Linked DNA regions of Homo sapiens: all the other regions are linked to region 4. The links are contacts of gene promoters, found by promoter capture Hi-C in blood cells and fetal thymus (Javierre and others, 2016). All regions are on one chromosome and are shown on one strand. Each heading gives the region's core, a stretch centred on a gene start or on the middle of the fragment in contact. The rest is flanking DNA. Distances are from core to core; before and after follow the strand shown. Region 1 overlaps ERGIC2 (ERGIC and golgi 2). Region 2 overlaps FAR2 (fatty acyl-CoA reductase 2). Region 3 overlaps ERGIC2 (ERGIC and golgi 2). Region 4 holds the start of CAPRIN2 (caprin family member 2). Region 5 overlaps FAR2 (fatty acyl-CoA reductase 2). Region 6 overlaps ERGIC2 (ERGIC and golgi 2). Region 7 overlaps FAR2 (fatty acyl-CoA reductase 2).

What was found. Contacts are between HindIII fragments. The CHiCAGO score rates a contact against its expected background, and 5 or more counts as called.
Region 1: a contact is called between a fragment that was not itself captured here and the fragment with the promoter of CAPRIN2 in region 4, in 7 of 17 cell types (total CD8 T cells, activated CD4 T cells, naive B cells and 4 more). The highest score is 9.9, in total CD8 T cells.
Region 2: a fragment that was not itself captured here is called in contact with the fragment with the promoter of CAPRIN2 in region 4 in 1 of 17 cell types (non-activated CD4 T cells); the score reaches 5.0 in non-activated CD4 T cells.
Region 3: a fragment that was not itself captured here is called in contact with the fragment with the promoter of CAPRIN2 in region 4 in 16 of 17 cell types (total B cells, non-activated CD4 T cells, activated CD4 T cells and 13 more); the score reaches 37.3 in total B cells.
Region 5: a fragment that was not itself captured here is called in contact with the fragment with the promoter of CAPRIN2 in region 4 in 2 of 17 cell types (naive CD4 T cells and naive B cells); the score reaches 5.4 in naive CD4 T cells.
Region 6: a fragment that was not itself captured here is called in contact with the fragment with the promoter of CAPRIN2 in region 4 in 11 of 17 cell types (total B cells, naive B cells, activated CD4 T cells and 8 more); the score reaches 13.6 in total B cells.
Region 7: a contact is called between a fragment that was not itself captured here and the fragment with the promoter of CAPRIN2 in region 4, in 1 of 17 cell types (monocytes). The highest score is 7.5, in monocytes.

Annotation. Positions count from the first base shown.
Region 1 is chr12:29,339,864-29,343,120 of GRCh38, reverse strand. It overlaps ERGIC2 (ERGIC and golgi 2), which reads left to right. Exons shown (of 14, transcript NM_016570.3): 12 at 1; 13 at 1,305-1,387; 14 at 1,903-3,257. The coding sequence ends at 1,965. Among named protein-coding and RNA genes, the nearest start is that of FAR2-AS1, 24 kb to the right of the region's middle. The HindIII fragment of the contact is 4,925 bases long and covers 1-3,257 here.
Region 2 is chr12:29,300,011-29,303,110 of GRCh38, reverse strand. All of the region lies in intron 4 of FAR2 (fatty acyl-CoA reductase 2), which reads right to left. The region is part of intron 3 of FAR2-AS1 (FAR2 antisense RNA 1); the gene reads left to right. Among named protein-coding and RNA genes, the nearest start is that of FAR2-AS1, 16 kb to the left of the region's middle. The HindIII fragment of the contact is 3,345 bases long and covers 1-3,026 here.
Region 3 is chr12:29,373,564-29,376,857 of GRCh38, reverse strand. The region is part of intron 1 of ERGIC2 (ERGIC and golgi 2); the gene reads left to right. Among named protein-coding and RNA genes, the nearest start is that of ERGIC2, 6.0 kb to the left of the region's middle. The HindIII fragment of the contact is 2,633 bases long and covers 367-2,999 here.
Region 4 is chr12:30,753,212-30,756,344 of GRCh38, reverse strand. CAPRIN2 (caprin family member 2) reads left to right here and starts at 1,394. Exons shown (of 19, transcript NM_001385503.1): 1 at 1,394-1,594; 2 at 2,786-3,001. The coding sequence starts at 2,825. LOC645485 (a long non-coding RNA gene) reads right to left here and starts at 1,271. Exons shown (of 2, transcript NR_135046.1): 1 at 1,074-1,271. RefSeq lists silencers at 1-69, 1,161-1,840 and enhancers at 1,768-1,937, 1,941-2,020. The HindIII fragment of the contact is 2,894 bases long and covers 1-2,377 here.
Region 5 is chr12:29,321,513-29,324,568 of GRCh38, reverse strand. FAR2 (fatty acyl-CoA reductase 2) reads right to left here. Exons shown (of 12, transcript NM_001271783.2): 10 at 2,645-2,774. Among named protein-coding and RNA genes, the nearest start is that of FAR2-AS1, 5.2 kb to the right of the region's middle. The HindIII fragment of the contact is 3,687 bases long and covers 1-3,056 here.
Region 6 is chr12:29,356,381-29,359,354 of GRCh38, reverse strand. It overlaps ERGIC2 (ERGIC and golgi 2), which reads left to right. Exons shown (of 14, transcript NM_016570.3): 7 at 1,631-1,732; 8 at 2,878-2,973. Among named protein-coding and RNA genes, the nearest start is that of ERGIC2, 23 kb to the left of the region's middle. The HindIII fragment of the contact is 614 bases long and covers 1,418-2,031 here.
Region 7 is chr12:29,239,257-29,242,384 of GRCh38, reverse strand. All of the region lies in intron 1 of FAR2 (fatty acyl-CoA reductase 2), which reads right to left. Among named protein-coding and RNA genes, the nearest start is that of FAR2-AS1, 77 kb to the left of the region's middle. The HindIII fragment of the contact is 3,311 bases long and covers 139-3,128 here.

The sequences.
Region 1 (3,257 bases), core at 724-3,223, 1.4 Mb after region 4:
GGTTAACAACCATTTCCTTTTTGTCTAATTTCTGAAAGTGTTGCTTATACTTAAGTTGCTTCTTCTCAAAGGGGCAAGAAGTATACAGATTTTCATGTTTCGGTGTTTAAATAGCTTTTGCTTTAATTACAAAACTCCAAAATTATATTGACTAACCAGTAAACATAACTAATTTCATTGTATTCAATGATGTAAGGTAGATTATATAATGGTGAGTTGGAAAGATCCTGGGTGTTAACATCAGATTGAAGTAGAATTGAATGTAAGTTCTGTCATTTACTTGGTGGTAGCTTGGAATAGATCACCTACCTTTTCTGAGGTTTTCTAATCAGTAAAAATAGCAATAATAATACCTAATTTGCAAGTGTGCTATAGGATTAAATATGAAAATGCCTAGAAGGCATTTAAGACATTTTTAACTGTACAGTATGTAAAATCATATGTTATAGTACTTTGAATTATGCAATACATGAAACTAGATTTGTAATCAGTAACATGTTTATGATTTTTGTCCTGAGATCCTGGAATTCGCTAAGATTATTTGTCGAATTGTAATGATGAAAATTGGGAGTTAAGTACAATAGAGAAAAAGGAAACAATTCTATTTTCATCTTCAGTCCTTATTCAGTATTAGATGGAGCTGGGTAGTTTATTATACTTAGAATCATATTTTTAAATGAATGAATAGCTTTTCTTTCGAAATTCTTTGTTAGTGCTTCATTTCAATCTATTTAAATTTGTGTTGTTGACATCATTTATTTTCCAAAATTGTATTGGTGTGGGAAAACCTTGAAAAGATTGTGTTTAGGCCCGGTGCAGTGGCTCATGCCTATAATCCCAACACTTTGGGAGGCCAAGGCTGGCGGATCAACTTGAGGCCAGAAGTTCCAGATCAGCCTGGCCAACATGGCTAAACCCCGTCTCTACTGAAAATATAAAAAATTAGCCGGGCATGGTGGTACATGCCTGTAATCCCAGCTAATTGGGAGGCTGAAGCACAAGAATTGCTTGAGCTGGGAGGTGGAGGTTGCAGTGAGCCAAGATTGCACCACTGCACTCCAGCCTGGGCAACAGAGTGAGACGTCTCAAAAAAAAAAAGATTGTGCTGAGATCGTGAATTATGTGGCCTTGTGACTTTGAAAAGAAATCCATTTGTTTTAAAATCTTTCTTGATTATTTTTAACCATGGAAGTGAATAATGCAAACTGCTTTGTTTTCTTCCGTAATCTATTCCATTATAGTTATTTATTCTTAAATAACAGTTTAGGAAATAATTAAAAGCATAAACTTATTGTTTATTACAGGCATGTTACATGGAATTGGAAAATTTATAGTTGAAATAATTTGCTGTCGTTTCAGACTTGGATCCTATAAACCTGTCAATTCTGTAAGTGGTGTAGTATACATGGTGCTGATCTCTAAATCTTAGAATCATTGTTAAGTCTATGAGCCAGTCATGGTGGCTCACACCTGTAATCCCAAGACTTTGGGAGGCTAAGGCGGGAGGATCGCTTGAGCCCAGGAGTTTGAGACCAGTCAAGGCAACATAGTGAGAGCCCCATTTCTACAAAAGATAGAAAAAATTAGCTAGGCAAGGTGGTGCAAGCCTGTAGTCCCAGCTACTTGGGAGGGCACAGTGGGAGGATCACTTGAGCCCAGGAAGTTGAGGTTGTAGTGAGCTATGATCGTACGTACCACTGCACTCCAGCCTGGGTGACAGAGCAGACCCTGCCTCAAAAAAGATAGAGATAGAGAGATAGAGAAATAGGGGGAGAGAGAGAGAGAAATAGTAGCTTTTGGTTACTAGAAAGGATTGCCCAAAATAAAACCTTGTGTTTAGAGGAAAGAGTATAAGGAATAAAACTAATTCTTTGGTCTTTTTTTCCCTCCTTTTCTCCTTAGGTTCCTTTTGAGGATGGCCACACAGACAACCACTTACCTCTTTTAGAAAATAATACACATTAACACCTCCCGATTGAAGGAGAAAAACTTTTTGCCTGAGACATAAAACCTTTTTTTAATAATAAAATATTGTGCAATATATTCAAAGAAAAGAAAACACAAATAAGCAGAAAACATACTTATTTTAAAAAAGAAAAAAAAGGATAAAAAAACCCAAACTGAAATTCTATATACGTTGTGTCTGTTACAAATGTCGTAGAAGAAATCATGCAGCTAAACGATGAAGAAGCCCAACTGGAGTGTTGCTTTGAAGATGACGCCTTCTTATATTTTCATAGCAAATGGGTGGTATCAAAATCAGACATTGCTTCTTGCTGATAAAAAGCCTGAAGGAAATAAGTGAAACTACATCTATGGGAAAAAAAAAAACATTGAGAAGTGCAAATGTTCGCATCCTTTTGTTTTTAAAAGATATGATGTCAGAATAAAATGTGGAAAACATACGGAAAACTAGTCTAGACTTTAAAGAATTGTGATCAGGTCACATTGTTAATAAAAAAAAAAAACGGGCTAGTCCCTATGTTATAGCCATATTAATGTTAAGCCATATTGACAAGACCAGTTATCCAATAATTTGGTCTTAAAAAGTAACTACTTTTCTTTGAACTCTGGTTATTGACTTATCTAACTGTTGAAGATAGAGTCTTAGAAGACTAAGGTAAATTCTCACAGGGGCAGATATGTAGGTGTTATGTAACTAGGGTGTCATTCACAAATGGTATAGTAGAATCTTATACACGGAAAAGAAAGCACATTTTTTTAAAAAAGATGCCAAGTTTTTTAATCTAATCATTATATTATTGGTGTATTTTGGGCAACATAGGGTGAGTTATAAAAAGATCCGCTACTGATAGTGAAAATTACCGGTTTGTAAAACATTAAGAGAAAAAATAGGATATTTTATACATGTGGTGAGTGGAGAACAGGGTAACTTTAAATGAAAGTGTAAGGCAAATTGTAAGCACCACAAGATATATCAGATTTGAGAGGTGCCATGTTAAACATTGTCCATTAAACTATAAAACTGTATTATGAAGTATTTGCATTCAGGGTGTCCTGAATATGATTGATTCTGTATTAGATTGTGTTCTAACTTTCTTACTATTTAAGGATTGGTTCTAAATCTTCACATTATAAAAGATTAAAAACAGTGAGAGGGAGCTATCACACAGGTACTATTAAAAGCTGTATTTGGAATATGTGTACCAATATCAGTTTTCCTTTTGTAGTACTGAATGGCAGTAGAAGAATCAGCAGCCAATCCTCAAAGTTTAAATCATTTAAGGAAATGGGGA
Region 2 (3,100 bases), core at 105-2,604, 1.5 Mb after region 4:
CATAAACTTAAGTCATTGAGATTTGAATATATCAGGATTAGCTCTCAAAAACGCATTGCTTCATGGAGTAAAATTTCAACAGAATTGAATTTTAAAAGAATTAAATCCCTGGTACTAGAAATGCAAAACATGACAAGTATGCATGTTCTAATCTGGAGTTAATTTGATAGGTGCAACCCCATATGCAAAGCAGTAGCCATGTCCTATTGTTTTTTTCTTTCCCAAAACATGGAGATGTTTTTTATACCTGTTGCCTCACCCTCATTCTAGTCTTCCATACTACTCCTCTCTGGTAATGGGTCTCGCTTCCTCCGTCTACTCCCTATGCTAATCCACTGCCTCCCCCGGCCCCTGGCTATATTAATATTCCTGAAGCCCACTTTCATCAGTATTTTTCCATGATGAAAACAAATGAGCAAACAACCCCAAATTACACACAAAAATGCATGCGCACACATGGCCCTCCTTCAATGGATCTCTACTGCATAGAGAATTAAATACAATTCCTCTGCATGGTATGCAAAATCTCCACAGTATGGCCCATCCTCCCCTCCAGCTTGATCTCTAACTTCTTCCCTACACGTAACACATGCGCTGCCAAGATGGACTACTGGCTGTGTCCCAAACACGCCTGGGTTTCCCAGCTCCAGCTGCCCTGCCAGGCACGTGTGCACATCTCACCTATCCACACTCTATCCACTCTTCCAAGTCTTCTCATATGCCTCCCTCCACTCCACCAGACTTAATATGACCTGTTTCCCCACCACCACACGTGTATAATTCTGCCGTGTTCTATTTGTCTTGGATACGAGCTCTTTGGAACATAGTCTATATCTTAAGAAAGCACCTTTTTTTTTTTTTTTTTTTTTTTTTTCCTTTGAGATGGAGTCTCGCTCTGTCGCCCAGGCTGGAGGGCAGTGGCACAATCTCTCGGCTCACTTCAAGCTCTGCCTCCCGGGTTCACGCCATTCTCCTGCCTCAGCCTCCCGAGTAGCTGGGAGTACAGGCGCCCACCACCACGCCCGGCTAATTTTTTGTATTTTTAGTAGAGACGGGGTTTCACCGCGTTAGCCAGGATGGTCTCGATCTGACCTCGTAATCCGCCCAACCCAGCCTCCCAAAGTGCTGGGATTACAGGCTTGAGCCACTGCACGCAGCGAGAAAGCACCTTTTAATCTCTACCACTGCCAAGTACGTGAGTAGACTGGAAAGACCATGGGCTTCAGAATCAAGTGGCCATGGATAAAAATTGTGTCTGAGAGACTTTCAAGGAGTTACTTAGCCATTTTGAGCTTTTTGCTCCGTGATTAGTATAGCAGTGATAATAATATCAACCTTACAATATTACGTTATGGAATTAAATGTCTGTGGAAGTGTCTTCCTCACAGTAATTGCTCAATAATGATTCATGTCCTCCCTTCCCTTCTTAATTCAGATTTATTTACATATGCTCAATAGAGCAATAAATATTTGTGATTCCATTTTTCTAGTACCTGCTTCCAGTTATTTCAGGTTTTTATACAGGCACAAAAGCCCTTTTCTTCTACACTGCTTTCCCTAAGAGGAGTTACCTTGACCTAAAAAATAAGGAAAGCACCAACCATAAAACCCTGCCTTTCTTGGTCAGTTATGTGCATTTTAAAAAATAAACATTCTACATAAGCTGTTATTCTGGAAAACTGGAATTTCACTGGCAATCCCTGATCCATTTATGCACATAAATTTCCAAAGGTAAATATACCAACTAGGCAGAAGCTGGCAATATGAAGGTAGAGCTGAGTCAGAATGGGAACCGGTGGCTGGGATGAGGGGCAGAAGACAACTACAGATATAAGAGCCAGGAAAATGAGTCGCTAAACACTGATTAACGGCCAGGCTTGTCATACTCATTAAAAGCATTAACTCCTGATTTAAGTTATTTTTAAAATATATTTCTGCTAATGTGCTAAAGTTTTTGTACTAACTTCATCTTTCTGGAATATTTCAGGGCCAAGGTAATGCTAAAAGTTTTTAGATAGGGGCTAAAGAAAGGGAGCTCAGGCCTGACAGTCTCAGCATACAGGATGGATAGAAAATGGGGGGAGCTGAATGAGCAGAGACTTTAGGCCTGCAAAGGTTGGGACCAGGATGTAAGCATGGGGTTCAAGTTCACAGTCCCATTATTAACAACACTGAGCAGTACCACTGCTGCCCAAGCAAACAGGAAAGGTCCGGGCCAAAAATGCATATCCTTCTTTATTTCCCAGAACTGGAATTCCCATTCAACTGATTTTCTGGAAAAATAAAGTTTCATTTTACGTCGTCATGGTGATTTTCTTGAGAATATAATGCCAAGAGTACAGCTTCAAGATCATCTTGTTGTCTAACGCCTGGTTCCTTATAAATAAATAAATAAGAACTGCTGAATTACTAAGAGCAATGGCAGCCACTAGACCCCTTGAAGTTACTGTTAACAACAACAACAACAACAACAACAACAACTTTCCCCCAGGCATTTCTCTGTTGCACTGAAAGAAAGGAAAACTCCCAGGGGAAATAGAAACCTAAAAACCTTGGAAAATAATTCCATTTTAACACAGACCAATTACTAAATAGAGAATTACTCAAAGAAACAAAGTATTTTCCTAAAACAAAGAAACTAAACCTGGATTTAGGTGAATTGATATTTATTCAGAATGATTTTTAATGTTGTTATTCTAAAACTTCCAAAAATTCCATCTGGTATAGGAGTCGTTGAAATAGTCGTAGATCATGGTATAGTTGGTGAGGGGTTGCTGGGTTTTATTTAAAGTGCTATTCAAAAGTTAACATACAGGTTTCATTCAAAGTTTAAGAAGAAAAAAATGAACAACCAGAAACAAGGGTAAGATGTGGGGATATGGATAGATATTTTATACATAAGACTTCTGCATCCCAAAATATCAGCTTGTTACAGAATTCTGTCATCTATTCTTGCTTCAGTCAAAACAAACAAACAAAAACAGTCAAAACAGTATGAACAATAATCGTCTATGCCACCAAAAGCTTTTCATTCATTCAGTGAGCATTGAGTCCCTAGCTGGAGATGCAAAGAGGAGCAAGAAATATTCTCTTCTGTTGA
Region 3 (3,294 bases), core at 434-2,933, 1.4 Mb after region 4:
TTTCTACGTTGTCCATGACTAGAAAATTTTGTCACAGAATAGCAATGACTTCTGGCAAGCATTGATGATCTGAGGTATTTCCAAACACATTTTTGAAAATGGCTTACCACACTGAGTAGAGAGGCAAATAGAGTGGGAATGGAGCAATGAAATTGGGTATCTGGTAGGATTTAAAGGATTTGAGAACACCAGTGAAAATGAAGAGCAGATTTATCTTAGGAAAGAGCTTGAAGGGTAGTTCCTACTTGGGGAGGTAAATGTGTTTTGGATTTTAGAGGTGGAACAGTTTTAAGGGTTGACCTTGCTCATGGGTGGCTTTCCATAGAATTAAGATGGAGGTCACAGGAGGAGAAGCGCTGTTAAGCTTACATGGTAAAAAGGTTTTATTGTGAATGAATGCTATAGGATAAATGCCATCAGAGCATGAATTCCAAAGGATGATAATGGAGTGGGGGAGAAGCATATTGAATGATCTGGGTGCTGAAGTCATTAAGCAAATTATGAATATATTCAGATGTTAGTGGAATATAGCAACAAGTACGGAAGTGAGAATCAGTGTGTACTGTGGTTTGGAGCATAGTTTCAAGTTCTACCACCTGCTATGTAGCCTGGGAAAATTATTTGACAGTTCTGTGCCTCATTTCCTCATCAAAAAGTAGGATTAAAAATAGTACCTGCTGCTTCATAGAGTCATTTACAAGATTAAATGAATTAATGTTTAAAGAGCTTCAAATAATACATAGCACAAAACATGAGAGATGGTTGAGAAATATGGTAAAACATGATACTTCTGTAACCTGTGAGTCTCAGAAATGACTAAGGATTGGAATGGAACTGCTGCCAATAGAAAGTCAGGTTTTATAAAGAGAGCAGACAGCAATTTCTTTTAGAAAAGCTAGAAGTTATTGGATACCTTGTTTATGCCAGACAGTGACTTTTACAGTAGGTTGGCAAGTATGCAAAATGGAATGAATTTCTTGGAGGTAGGTTAGTGCTGAGCTTTCAGGAATGGGACTGGTGGAGTAGCTGAGGGGCGAGGTGCTCCATTCTAGAGTGATATCCCCTGGAAAACAGGGATGGAGGAAGCTAGAGATGGGTAGGGAGCCACATGATATATTCCAGCTAGACTTTCAAGGGAGGAGTGTTGAATAGGTTGTATGTATTATTAGGAGATTTGTAAAACTAACTGCTTGCCGTATCTTTATGCTTATATATAAATTAAAAGAGCATTTAGAAAGCTCATTATACAAATATAACATTTATATAAACTTTTAGAAATGTAATTCACTGTTTTATTCATTTGTTTAACAGTGCTATACTGACTATGTGATGGCCACTGTTCTAGGTCCTGGGACAGTAGACAACAGGAAAATCCTTCTTGTGGATCTTATTTTTATATATTTACTTACCTAAGTATGACATACTGCTGTGATTTGAAAGATGTGCTACTGTGGTGTTTCTGGGAAAATTTCCTTCCTTCCTTTTCTCAATAAATATTGAATACCTGTTCGCTAGGCATTGGAGATACAAAGATCAAGTTAGACATGGTTCCTGCTCTAACAATCCGGTGGAGGAAACAGAAAAAGAGGCAATTAGAAATAGTGTGATAAAGGTACAACGTTCTAGAAGCAGATAGACTTTGAAGGCCATGGAAAGTTTTTTTGTTCCCCCTGCTTGCTCAAGGTAGAGATGAGTAGACTGGACCTTGAAGAGTAAGTAGGAGTTAGTCAAATGTAGAGATGCGGTAGGGGGAAGAAAAAATATTTCTGGCAAAGAGAATAGGATATTTAAGGAATTGAAAGTGATTTAATATGGTTGGAACGTAGACTGTGAGTGATTGGGTTTGAAGAGAGGTTAGCAGGACCTGGTTTTTGAAGGGCTTTGTAAAACATGTTAGGATAGAATCCAAGCTCTTAAGTGTAGTGGGAAGGGAAGTTTTACAAAGATTTGAAGAGAAATATCAGATTTATGTATTAAAAAGATAATTTATTATTACAGTATAGAGAGAGAATTGGAAGGTTGAAGATTAGAGGTTGTTGAAGCAATGTAGTGATAGATTGTGGCAGTTGGGACTAGGAACATACTTGGACATAAGGAATTTCTCAGTAGGCCTGAAGAAGAGAAGACAGGCAGATTTAAGAGAAATTTAGAAATAGCTTAAGTCTAAAGATATAACCCATGTTTCTGGCTTGTGTAGTTGGGCTTATGGTGTTATCATTAAGATAGATACAGGAGGAACAATTTTTACAGGGTGAAGTATTCATTTTTGGACTTGTTGAGTCTGAATTGTGTTTGGAATGTCCAAATGAAAAGGTAACAGAAGGCAAGGGGTTATACATATCTGCAGAGAGATCTGGGCAGAGAATCAAGATTTGGGATAAATCAACATGCAGATTGAAATGGAAGGAGTGGGCGATCATTTGGGGAAGGTGTGGAGGTTAAGGGGGAGACCTAGTGCAGAATCTTGAGAGAAAGATGAATTTGCACAGTAAGCCAAAGAGGGTTTTCCAGGTAGAATGAAAATTGGGGATGTGATATCACTTAAGTCAAGGTAAGAGAATGTTTCGAGAAGAAAAAGAAGTGATAAGCAGTGTGTTTTCTCAGAGGTGCAGTTAGATAAGGACTGAGGAGTGTCTGTCAGTACTAAGGAAGTTAATTACCTTGCTCAGAGCAAATTTAGTTAAGAGGTGAGAGTTGGGTGAGGAAGTAGTCACAGTAGATGAATGGGGACAACTCATTCTTTTAAGTTGGCTGTAGGTGTGCTGCGAGAGATGTATTGTTGGAGTTGGACTTGAGTTTAAGGGAGAGTTCTGTTTTAAAGAGAAGAGACATACAGATATTTAATATTTTACTCAAATCAGAAAGAGTAGAAATTGAAAGATTGAAAAAGGGTCAGTTTTTGTGCAGTTACTACTAAAAAGGTACAGAAAATAAATTTGATTATCAGAGCTAAACAAGTTTAGCGGGCATGGCATATACATAACAAACATTCAGAAGCTTAATTTATCGATGGGAATACCAGTTTTATAACTGACGTGGGGGTCAGAAAACTGTCATCTGTTTTGTCTATGACATCTATTTTTTTCTTTCGAATACTAAGTGCATGGGAAAAAAATCATAATTCGAAGGCTGCTTTGTGAGTGTGGAACCAGCAAGGGAAGTTTAGTTGGTTGATTTTAATGGCAGAGGAAATCAATGTATTAATGCTTTCAACTCTACTGTAGAGTAGTAGCTCCCTGCTGGACTGATAAATAGTGCTCCTGGTCAGAGCTTCTTTCCTTTAGACAGTATTCA
Region 4 (3,133 bases), core at 145-2,644:
AGGTGATCCACCCCGCCTCGGCCTCCCAAAGTGCTGGGATCACAGGCTTGAGCCACTGCGCCGGCAGGGGGCAAACATTTCATGATTAATCTGACTGAAATACCATTTTTAGGTTCATCATTAGCTCGGACTACAACTCAGGCTGTGCTGTAACTTTGTGTCAACTCATTGATCCAACAGTGTGTCCTTCACATTTTTTCTTATGGCCACTGTTTTTTGTGTTACCAAAGGTGAAGGCATAGCCTTCCTCTCCTCATGTTCAGCATCTTCTGCGTTTCTCTGTTTATAAACAATGAGAAAAAGGGAAAATCTAGTATTTCTCTGACCCTGAAGAACACATATGGGATTCAGAGATTCAAAGTTAAAATGCAACATTAGGGTACATTATGTCACCAGGGACCGAAAAGAACACGGATAATAGATGCCAAAAAAATGTATTAAGTAATGTTAAAATTAATTTGTGTGAAGTTGACCAAGGCTTTTAAAACTAGACCTTTGTTTCCTTGATTCTTCTTCTGAATTTTCTGTTCTTTTGCTAGTCTCAATATTTTTTATCAGAGCGTCAGGGACAATCAGGACCTAAAAAACTCCACTTGGTGTAATAAGTAAACACATGTTGGGGCAAAGTATTGCTGAGTGTGTGTGTGTGTTTCTTATTTGGTATCAGAAACACCTTCCTTTCCTCAATAAACTTTTACATATTTCCAGACTTTTCTCTTAATTTTATGTAACCTTACAAAGATTTTTTACAGCTTTCTCTGCGTGCCAGTCAATTAATGTGTGTCACATGAACAAATAATACGGCTTGAATAAACTCAATCCTATTATTGCAGGTTGCGAAGTCACCTACTCCGTTTTTATGGCGATGCTGATTTGGGGCATTCTGCTCTTACAGGCTGATTCCCCGGTAAGGAAACGGTGTTTTTTCCCCATCCTACTATGAAAGATGCTATCTGAGGGGCAAAGGCGCATCTGCATTTCACGACTACCCACTAGGCTACGACAGCCTCAAGCATGGCTTATCTGGTAGTTCCGCGAAGGGCTCGCTGCCCTCCTGGAGCTATTGGAGTCACCTGTTCAAGGTCGCGAAACCACCGGTGCCGCCGGCAATCAGCGAGGTCCAGCGGGGCTGCGCGGTTTCCGGCCTGCCGGCGTTCGGCGTCGCCTCGGCCCCACCTGGTGCCCCGCAATCTGCGCAAAGGCTGGGAGACCGCGCCCTCTCCCGACCTACCACCAGCCCAAGCTGGGCCCGGAACTAACACCCGACAAGCGCTGGCGGCCAGCTGCAGCCGGGAAGGAGCACCGGAAGGAGGCGGTGGCGGGGCGGCCGAGGGCGGAGCGGGCCGGGGCGGGGCGCGGCCTACAAAAGCCACGCGCGGCGCGGTGGGCGGGCCTGGGCGCGAGCGGCTGAGTCGGCTGGGTCTCTGGCGCCGCAGAGGCCGCGGGCGAGGACCGGGAGGGGAGAGGGAGGAGACAGGAGGAGGAGACGCGAGTGCGGGGTGGCGCCGGTCCACCTCCGCAGCGCTCCTGCCTCCCCCAGGCTTTGGAAGGCGGGCCCGGGCTGCGGCAGCGGCGGCCTCGGCTGCCTGGGGAGGTGAAGTCGGGCTGCGGCGGCCTCGGTCGGCGCGGCGGAGGGAGGCGGCTGACCCGGCGAGGGTGGGCAGGTCTGGGCGGCCGGCGCCGCTGCGAGGTGGAGGGGCGGCTTGGCATCCCCGGGGCGGGGCGGGGCTCCCGAGGGCCGCGGTCGGTGCGTTTTCCGCAGGTCAGCCTCCCCCGGGGCCTTGCAGAAGCGGCTTCTGCGTACCCGGGGCGGCTGTGGGAAGGGTGGGGGTCGGTGCCTGCAGGGCTCTCCGTGGCCGCTCGGGAGAGGTGCTCTTCGCTCAGGCTCCCCCGGAGACTTGAGGGGGTGCGCGCTGGCGTGCATGGGGCCTGTTCTGTCCTTGGTTTGGGGATGCTCCTAAGGGGGGAGAAAGGGATACCTCGGGTGCTTGGAGGTCGAGAGACGGATACGTAAGTGCGCAAGGGCCACTGATTAGGGCACGGGAAGGGCTCGCTAGAATGAGCTCTTAAACTGGTTGGGTGTAAGCGGTTTTGGGCTAGTCTAAACCAAACAACTGAGAATAAACGCGGGGTTCCTGCAGGTTGAGAGAGTACCTGTCTGCAAATGTCCAGTAGTGATGGATTGCCTTGTAGGCCCCAGAGCAATCGGGGAAGTTAGCATTCTTGTTCAAGAAGCTGCTGGTTCACTTAGAGCTATAAAAGAATGTTGTGAGTTTGGATTTTCTTCCAAACGTTCAGGATTGAGGTTAGGGCTGGTGGTGAGGGATCATGTAAAGAGGTTTGAGTGGCTCAGCCTTAGGTCCCGGTGTGGAAAGCTTATTCTTTTGGTGTCATCACGTGGCCATGGGAATTATTTAGAATGTGATCTGCCCTCATGAGAAGAAAGGAGCTCTGAAGCCGTTGCAGTTCTTCCTCCCTATGTGGAAAATCGAATTTCTGGAAACATCCTCCGTATTGGGAGATTTTGCCTATGTAAAGGCTATCCTTATTGGCTAGCGGCACTAATTACTTTAAAAGTAGGATGGAAGTACAAGTATCTCAAGCATCATTGGGTTTCGAGCTCACTTCTGTGGAAAAGAGTTTAAGGGAGTGGTCTAGACTTTCCAGGGAAGTTATTGCCTGGCTGTGTCCCTCTAGTCCTAATTTTATACTTAACTTTCCCCCACCTCCTTCAGCCTCATCTGTTTCAATGGTGCAACTCTTTTCATCCCCTTTTGGTTACCAGTCACCTTCAGGCCATTCAGAGGAGGAAAGAGAGGGGAATATGAAGTCAGCCAAGCCCCAAGTGAACCACAGTCAGCATGGGGAAAGCCAGCGGGCCTTGAGCCCCCTGCAGTCTACTCTGAGTTCTGCTGCATCTCCTTCCCAAGCGTATGAGACCTATATTGAAAATGGACTCATATGCCTTAAACACAAAATTAGAAACATCGAGAAAAAGAAGGTAACTTTTTTTCTTCCAGTCCTGTAGATGCATGATCTTAAAGATTAAGGAGCTGACATTTTTCTTTCAGAGCTCATAGGTGTTCTCTACTAAAAATTTAACTAACCTTAGGTTTAGCTGCTTTAAACAAGC
Region 5 (3,056 bases), core at 514-3,013, 1.4 Mb after region 4:
TTGTAGAGTTTCTGCCGAGAGATCATCTGTTAGTCTGATGGGCTTCCCTTTGTGGGTAACCCGACCTTTCTCTCTGGCTGCTCTTAACACTTTTTTCCTTCATTTCAACTTTGGTGAATCTGACAATTATGTGTTTTGGAGTTGCTCTTCTCGAGGAGTATCTTTGTGGCATTCTCTGTATTTCCTGAATTTGAATGTTGGCCTGCCTTGCTAGATTGGGGAAGTTCTCCTGGATAATACCCTGCAGAGTGTTTTCCATCTTGGTTCCATTCTCCCCGTCACTTTCAGGTACACCAATCAGACGTAGATTTGGTCTTTTCACATAGTCCCATATTTCTTGGAGGCTTTGGTCGTTTCTTTTTATTCTTTTTTCTCTAAACTTCTCTTCACGCTTCATTTCATTCATTTCGTCTTCCATCGCTGACACCCTTTCTTCCAGTTGATCGCATCGGTTACTGAGGCTTGTGCATTCGTCACGTAGTTCTCGAGCCTTGGCTTTCAGCTCCATCAGCTCCTTTAAGGACTTGTCTGCATTGGGTATTCTAGTTATCCATTCGTCTAATTTTTTTTTCAAAGTTTTTAACTTCTTTGCCATTGGTTCGAACTTCCTCCTTTAGCTCAGAGTAATTTGATCTTCTGAAGCCTTCCTCTCTCAACTCGTCAAAGTCATTCTCTGTCCAGCTTTGTTCCGTTGCCGGTGAGGAGCTGCGTTCCTTTGGAGGAAGAGAGGCACTCTGATTTTTAGCGTTTCCGGTTTTTCTACTCTGTTTTTTCCCCATCTTTGTGGTTTTATCTACCTTTGGTCTTTGATGATGGTGACATACAGATGGGTTTTTGGTGTGGATGTCCTTTCTGTTTGTTAGTTTTCCTTCTAACAGTCAGGACCCTCAGCTGCAGGTCTGTTGGAGTTTACTGGAGGTCCACTCCAGACCCTGTTTGCCTGGGTATCAGCAGCGGTGGCTGCAGAACAGCGGATATTGGTGAACCGTAAATTCTGCTGCCTGATCATTCCTCTGGAAGTTTTGTCTCAGAGGAGTACCTGGCCGTGTGATGTGTCAGTCCGCCCCTACTGGGGGGTGCCTCCCAGTTAGGCTACTTGGGGGTCAGGGACCCACTTGAGGAGGCAGTCTGCCCATTCTCAGATCTCAAGCTGCGTGCTGGAGGAACCACTACTCTCTTCAAAGCTGTCAGACAGGGACATTTAAGACTGCAGAGGTTATTGCTGTCTTTTGTTTGTCTGTGCCCTGCCCCCAGAGGTGGAGCCTACAGAGGCAGGCGGGCCTCCTTGATCTGTGGTGGGCTCCACCCAGTTTGAGCTTCCAGGCCGCTTTGTTTACCTACTCAGGCCTGAGCAATGGCGGGCGTGCCTCCCCCAGCCTCACTGCTGCCTTGCAGTTTGATCTCAGACTGCTGTGCTAGCAATGAGTGAGGCTCCATGGGCATAGGACCCTCCAAGCCATGTGCTCCCGCACATGGTGTGCCATTTGTTAAGCCCGTTGGAAGAGCGAATAGGAACAGCTCCAGTCTACAGCTACCAGCGTGAGCGACGCAGAAGACGGGTGATTTCTGCATTTCCAACTGAGGTACCGGGTTCATCTCACTGGGGAGTGCCGGACAGTGGGTGCAGGACAGTGGGTGAAGTGCACCGTGCGTGAGCCGAAGCAGGGCAAGGCGTCGCCTCACCCAGGAAGTGCAAGGGGTCAGGGAATTCCCTTTCCTAGTCAAAGAAAGGGGTGACAGATGACACCTGGAAAATACAGCCATCTGATATTTACTCCCCAGTGTGACTTGGTTTCTTCTACATGCTGTCAGGTACAAAATAAAACAAAAGATACATTTTAGAAAATTGTTTCTTAGTGGGAAATGTCAATCAATATGGAGTGAAAACCTTAAAATTTAGTTAAAAACGGGATACATGACTGAGAAAAAGGCTAGGAACATGTATAATATACAAAAGAATTTCAGAATATGCAAAGATTTTAGGACTTATCCTTTGTGACTGCCAAGAAGTTAAAGAAATAAGTGGTGCTGGTGCTAAGGAATTAAACTGAAGACCTGTCTTGAGAAATGAAAGTCTGAACTGTTGTAGAGAAATCCTATAGAGAGGGAGATCGACGATGCAGCACTGATGAAGGGAGGTCTGAGGTGAGGCAGAGTGCATAGGTGTAGGGATTAGCTTTAACAAGGTAAGGAAGGAACTGTAGCTGGGAGAGGCAGAACAATTTTGATTGGACAAGAATAGTGGATGATTGAGTTTATAAGCAATAAAATCATTATTTTTCATTGAAGTCATATGCTGTGGCAGATAAGGGAAGAACACAGCCACCCAGAGGTACTGAGGGTTTGTAGAAATGATAACTATCAAGGAGTGACAAAACGATTGAAGTGCAGTAGATAAAACATGTTGGCAGATCAGCAGTTAAAGATTTAACCAAAGTCCAAGAACCTACATTTCTTACTTACATTAAACTTGTTTCCTACGGTGGTGTTGATAGCATTGACTGATTTTCTTAGAAAAACAAAGCAAAACAAAATCTGTGTCTATAACCAAACGTCTTATTCATTCATCAGCTTTCCAAATCAAATAATTCTAAATTCCAAGTGAGTAGCATTTTCCTGGTGCTTAAGTCAGTGCTCTACTTACTCTCTGGTCTTCAGGACTCAGCTCAGACATCAGCATTTCTGTATTGTACGTGCTCCATTCCCAACTCCGGTTGATGAAATACTCCAACATGGAAACAGTTCTTAAAAGCCGATTCATGAGCTTTGTCATCCTGAGATAACCATCAGATAGGAGTAAATATCAGCGCACCACTTCCCTGTCACTCTACAGGGATGTATGAGAAATTATTTTTAAGAAAATACAAAAATTATCCCTGTCTACCACTCCTCATTAAAATTCTTCTTCTTTTTTCTCCTTCCACATTAACTCTCTATTCATTCAACAGAAAAAGAAAAGGGCTGGATCTAAAGGAGCTTGTTCTGTTAGGCATTTAATACCAGACTCCTTTTCTAACACCTATTTCTCAAGAATAGCAAACCTATTTTAAAAGTGA
Region 6 (2,974 bases), core at 475-2,974, 1.4 Mb after region 4:
AAACCCCTTGATCACTGCCATGCTTCAAAAGTTGATCTCTCGAATTACAAGACACAAAAAAAGTGAAGATTTCCATTTCTGCTGGCATTGAATCCAAAGATTCAATGTCAAAGATTCAATGTCTTTAAATGTCTGAATCTGAAGATGGGATCTGGCTTCTTGAAGCATCCTAGATTATCACGTTCTGATTCTAAACATTATTAAATAGCTCTTGAATGGCCTAGAGATACCCAAGGTAGATATCTTCCTAACTAATGTGCATACCAAAATGTTCTTTACTTCTAGAATTTTCTAAGAGATTTAAATTTTCTCTCAGTTGGTGTTCTATAATACTTTCCTAAAATATTTAGGATCACAATTAATCTCTCTTTAACTGTAAATTTCAAACCCTGGACAGAACCTTTCTGGTTTCTACTTTTTATGTCGAGATTTCAGATTTATTTTATTCCAAACTATACAGTATAAATATGAGTTGTTATTTTACATAGGCCTGTTATACTAATTTTCTAGATAGATGATGCATAAGTTTTTAATCTTCTGCTTGCACATCTAGAAAGTACTTATTTTATCATTATGGTGGGATGGTAAAGTATTATGAGATTCACATTTGCTTTCTTTTTGTGAGTACCTATGTTTATAACTTTTTTCCAAGTTACATGTATGTATTTTTCTTTTAGAGTAGTTAGGCTCACAGCAAAATTGAGCAGAAAGTAGTGTTCCTATATACCCGTCCCGCTACAGGTTCCCCCATTATCAACAACTTGCATCAGATTGGATATAGTTGTTATAATCAGTGAACCTATGTTGACACATCATCATCACCATAGTTTACATTAGAGTTCGTTCTTGGTGTTGAACGTACATTCTGTGAGTTCTGACAAATGTATAAGGACATGTATCTACCATACTGCCATACAGAATGATTTCACTGCTGTAAAAATTATCTGTGCTCTGCCTGTTTATTCTTCCCTTCCCACTGTGTATAACATTTGTACTTACCAAGTTTGAACTTTACTACAGATGATTTGGAATATTAGTTATTTGAAGAAATAGAATTAAAAGAGATAAAATAGGACTACATCTAATGACACAAAGTTATTGCTGAAAATTGTAGGAGTTAACATGGCTCAATGGTAGAAGTATTGTAGAGAGAAAAATTTTTGTAGTGAAAATCAGTTACTTGTGGTATGAGTTTATACTGAGTAATGTACCATTTCAAGTCCATCAAGTCCATTGTGTAGCCCCTTATTTGTCCTACTCTTTGTATCTACAATATTTCATTCAGTGTCTGACAAAGATAAGAATTTTGTTAATTGTGCATGTATGCATGAAAGATGAATTGAGATACTTAAGTGAGTAGAAGCCCTACTTTGGTGGTCCTGATGGCACATCCATTACTGATGGAATCAAACAAGCTTATGGAGCTCAGCTATTAGACCTCTTAGCCACCCTGCCTCATTTGCTTTCAAGGAAATGACCAAAGAAAACTTGGTATGTTATTTTAGAATATGAAATCCTGTAATAATAAATGTATGATTTAACTAAGTCAGCTAAACATTGTCATTTTTGAATAAGTGTCAGCTCTCTTTGTGTACCTTTCTGTAGTTCTAAATTATTGCTTCTTATTTAGGATGCTGCAGCTGATTCAGAGTAGGCTACAAGAAGAGCATTCACTTCAAGATGTGATATTTAAAAGTGCTTTTAAAAGTACATCAACAGCTCTTCCACCAAGGTGAGATCTGTATTTTAAATGTGCAACTGTTTATTATGAATTTACTTTGACATAGTTAAAACTAAAGTGTTGGTTTAGTTTTCTGAATCTTATTTTTCTTAGGAAGGGAAAATAGAATCATTCTGTACTATAAAGACGCCTTTTGCTCTTAAATTTATAGCCTGTGATTTTGATCAGAATTATCACAAATATTTATTTGCATTTAATTTTCTTTTTTATGCGTGGTATACCCCCACATAAAATTATATTGAGTTTTAAGAAAAATTAGTTTCATTTACTATTTTGAGGATATATAAGCTTTGGTTAGAAATTTTGTTTTATTTCCCGTTTTTGTATTTTAATTAAAGATTAGAGGCTGGGCGCAGTGGCTCACGTCTGTAATCCCAGCACTTTTGGAGGCCAAGGTGGGCGGATCATTTGAGGTCAGGAGTTCGAGACCAGCCTGACCAACATGGTGAAACTCCGTCCCTACGAAAAATACAAAAAAATTAGCTGGGTGTGGTGGGTGCATGTATGCAGTCCCAGCTACTTGGGAGGCTGAGGCAGGAGAATAGCTTGAACCCAGGAGGCGGGGTTACAGTGAGCCAAGATTGCACCACTACACTCCAGCCTGGGTAGCAGAGCAAGACTGTGTCTCAAAAGAAAAAAAAAAAAGATTCGTGGATATTTGGAAATGCTATAATCATAAACATAATAAAAATATACAAGATTTTACATTTGCTTAGGAAGAAAATGTCACTGTCTCTTTGAATTTAGGTGGCATGCCTTTCCTTTACCTCAATCATGTTTCTGCCCTCCCTCCCTCTCCCTGCTACAGTACCAGAAATAAATGAAAAAAATATGTCTTTTTGGACTAATTATTTTGTTTTAGTCTTCTGTCACTGGACTTAGTCCTCTGGTTAGAGTTGAAGAACCATGGAATTTCAAATTTATGTAAATGTAATAGATATTAAATACTTTTTTCCCATTTTATAGATGTATAATTTTTATAAATGTCTAGACTTCAGGAAACTATTCTATTTTTAACATTTAGAATATTACCTAAAAAATGATCTTTAGGGATTTTTTTTTCTATACACATTTTTCTCATCATAAAATGGTAACTGTATTGAATGTGCTTTAAATAATATATCTTATTTTAACAGAGAAGATGATTCATCACAGTCTCCAAATGCATGCAGAATTCATGGCCATCTATATGTCAATAAAGTAGCAGGGAATTTTCACATAACAGTGGGCAAG
Region 7 (3,128 bases), core at 545-3,044, 1.5 Mb after region 4:
CAACATAACATGCCAGCTTGAGAACACAGGATTTCAGCACAAGCTTATTCACTGAGAGGACTGGGTAAACTCCCTAGTATAATGCTGTTCAGAGGTCAAAAAGAGAAGTGGATTAACAATAATTTTTTTAAAGAAGCTTTTTGTCTTCATTACTACACCTTATTTGTCATTTTGAGTCACCCAGTTCTAAATGGAGTGAAGCCAAGGGAAAGGCCTCAAATACATAAACTTCCTTTCTAGCTCCTCAGAAGTCTTGAAGTCGTGTGTCACACTGGTGTGACTCCTTCGGTGTAAAGTGGCGTGCTGAGCATTAACACGGATGTTTGCAAACATTTGAGGCAAGGCCTATGCTCTGTGTTCAGACTTAGCACCAGGAGAAGCCCACATTGCTCCCACATTTGCCATCCTCAGCTGTCACAGAATACATGGGCTGAGGTGATTTCTCTGTAGAGACTCTAGTGAGGAAAGGGGGGATTTGTTCACAGCTTCGATGCACGCACCCAGGGGGTGCTACACCCATCAGCAATTCTCTCTGGAATCAACAATTCCCTGGAGCATCTGAGGTGCTCCTGCCTCCTCGGAAATGAAAAGCAGGAAAAACGGCAAGCAACCCAAGTCCTGCTGCTGGAATAGGCAACAGGAAACAGGAGACTTTTCGTTTTGAAGGTGTTTGCCCTGCTTTTTATTTCAAATATTGATCTGGGAAAGGAAGGGAGATTTTACATTTCATACGTCTTTTAAAAAGAACTCAGCATCAAAGGAAACATTGAGAACATTGTCAGGTTGTGATAAAGTCTGCAAAAAACACCTCAGTGTGAGAGAATAAAAAAAGAAATAAGAGAATTAGCTGGAGAGATAAGAGGAAGGAGAGGGAGAACAAACTCATTTTTTTTCCTGCAGAGAAGGGAAAAATACTGAGTAGTATATACACACTAAAACAGAAACCATGATGTACAGAATAACTAGATCAATCTAAATAAATAAAGAAGATCAATCTAAATTTACAGAAATTCCTCTTTCACTTTCTTGAGAAAGTCTTTCCAGATTTCCATCAGATACAAAATAGAAAGCCACAGCAATATTAGAAGAAGAAAAAAAAAGATGAAGTGGAGACATGTATACATACACATTTTGGCATATGTGTACATACATACAAAAGCATCCACACATTATATTTGTACACACACATACATTATATGTGTAGCATGTGCATAGCTTAATCTTTCTTTAGTACACATTCAGAGTGGCACTTTCAATACTAGCTTTTAAATACACAATGAGGCCGGGTGCGTGGCTTATGCCTGTAATCCCAGCACTTTGGGAGGCTGAGGTGGGTGGATCACTTGAGGTCAGAAGTTCGAGACCAGCCTGGTCAACATGGTGAAACCCCGTCTCTACTAAAAATACAAAAACTAGCTGGATGTGGTAGTGCATGTCTGTAATTCCAGCTACTCAGGAGGCTGAGGCAGGAGAATCACTTGAACCCAGGAAGCGGAGGCTGCAGTGAGCTGAGATCGTGTCACTGCACTCTAGCCTGGGTGATGGAATGAGACTCAGTCTCAAAAAAAATATATAAAAAAAAATATACATACACACACACACACAATGACATTCCTAGTGCTTTAGAGAAACGTACATATATTTTTAAGATGTATACCTTGTGCCTGTGATTAATTACAAAGTTCAGTTACCTTTTTCAATGACTTCATCTCTGGATATAGTTACTAAACGCTGCCTGACTACATTCCAGAGAGGAGTAAGAGAGCTTGAGTGCCTGGTGGGAGAGGGAATGCCCATGAAGCAAACTGGGCTGTGGATGATGAGACAAGGCAGTAAATTCACATTTTCAAATTAAAAAAAAAACAACCCATTTTGTGCCATGATTTCTCTGTGTCACCTCACCCCTTCTGGGAGTGCTTGCTACACAGTTATATTGGTGGTACTTTTGGAAAGTGGAGCAGCGTCGGCCATTGGAAGTCATATGGAAGGAGGAGTCCTGACAGGTAGTGAGCCAATTAGCAGGGAGAGGAAGAATTGCACGGAAGCAGGACTTCAGAGTGGGAGTTGATGGTGAAACTACAAATTGGCCAGGAATCCCTGGAAATGCAGGTGTAAGCTCTGACTTCCAGAATGCTTGGAATCTGGCATGAGTTATGTTTTTGCTTACTAAAGGGAAGGTTGACTCCAACCTGTCATTAAAATATCTGAAATTATACTATTTTGTATAAACAGTGGTAAGTGAATCTTATGAGCCACGCTGTCGACAGCTGGAGTCAGGAGAATATAAACATTTGTCTTTTTGATAGAGAAAGAGATTTTGGAAGCTCTTGGAACGATGGAAGATGTGAAGGCTAGAAAATTGGGGCAGCAGATACCATCTCAAACATAGGATAAAAGTAATGTGGAAAGTAAGAGCCAGATGACTGGATAGTGGTTCTCTGAAAAGGACTAATATAGGGGCAAAGAATACCTAAATCATCTTTCTGTTTTAAAACATGGAAAGCTATCTGTCCTTCTTGTGTAGCAACAATAAATAAAATACAACAATAAGATTTCTGTCATTAATAAAGCCAGAGGATATATATTAATCATCTACTTAGAAGAATTTTCAAAACCTGAGTTCATATATATAAAGGATTTGCCAGATTTTAAATTATTATTACATTGTTGAAGGATAATATTTCTCTGCCTTTGCACTTTGAAAAAATATAAAATCTTTGGTTATGATGACTTTGGGGGACATTTGTTTTGTGGCTTTCCAGCATTTTCCTCTACTGGTCATCACCTCACATCATCTCTTCCCACGTGGGTAGTCTTTTGGGAGCTGTTACTCAAGATGCTCTGCCCTCTTAGCCAAGGGATAAAATTTTTAACTTTGAGTAAAAGGACACAAAGTTTTATACACACACACACACACACACACACACACACAGTTGATTCATTTAGCTGTGGCACATTGGCCAGATAATCTAGTCAATTAATACTTTTCTAGATACAAAAAAACAGGACTTTGATAGCTCTTAGGAAATGGAAAGGGTTTCCTGCCCTTTCTCATGCCAGTTCTCTAGCCATTCCATTGATTGTGTGGCTATCCCCTTTACTTCCAGTAAATTCCCTATTTGTTTAGT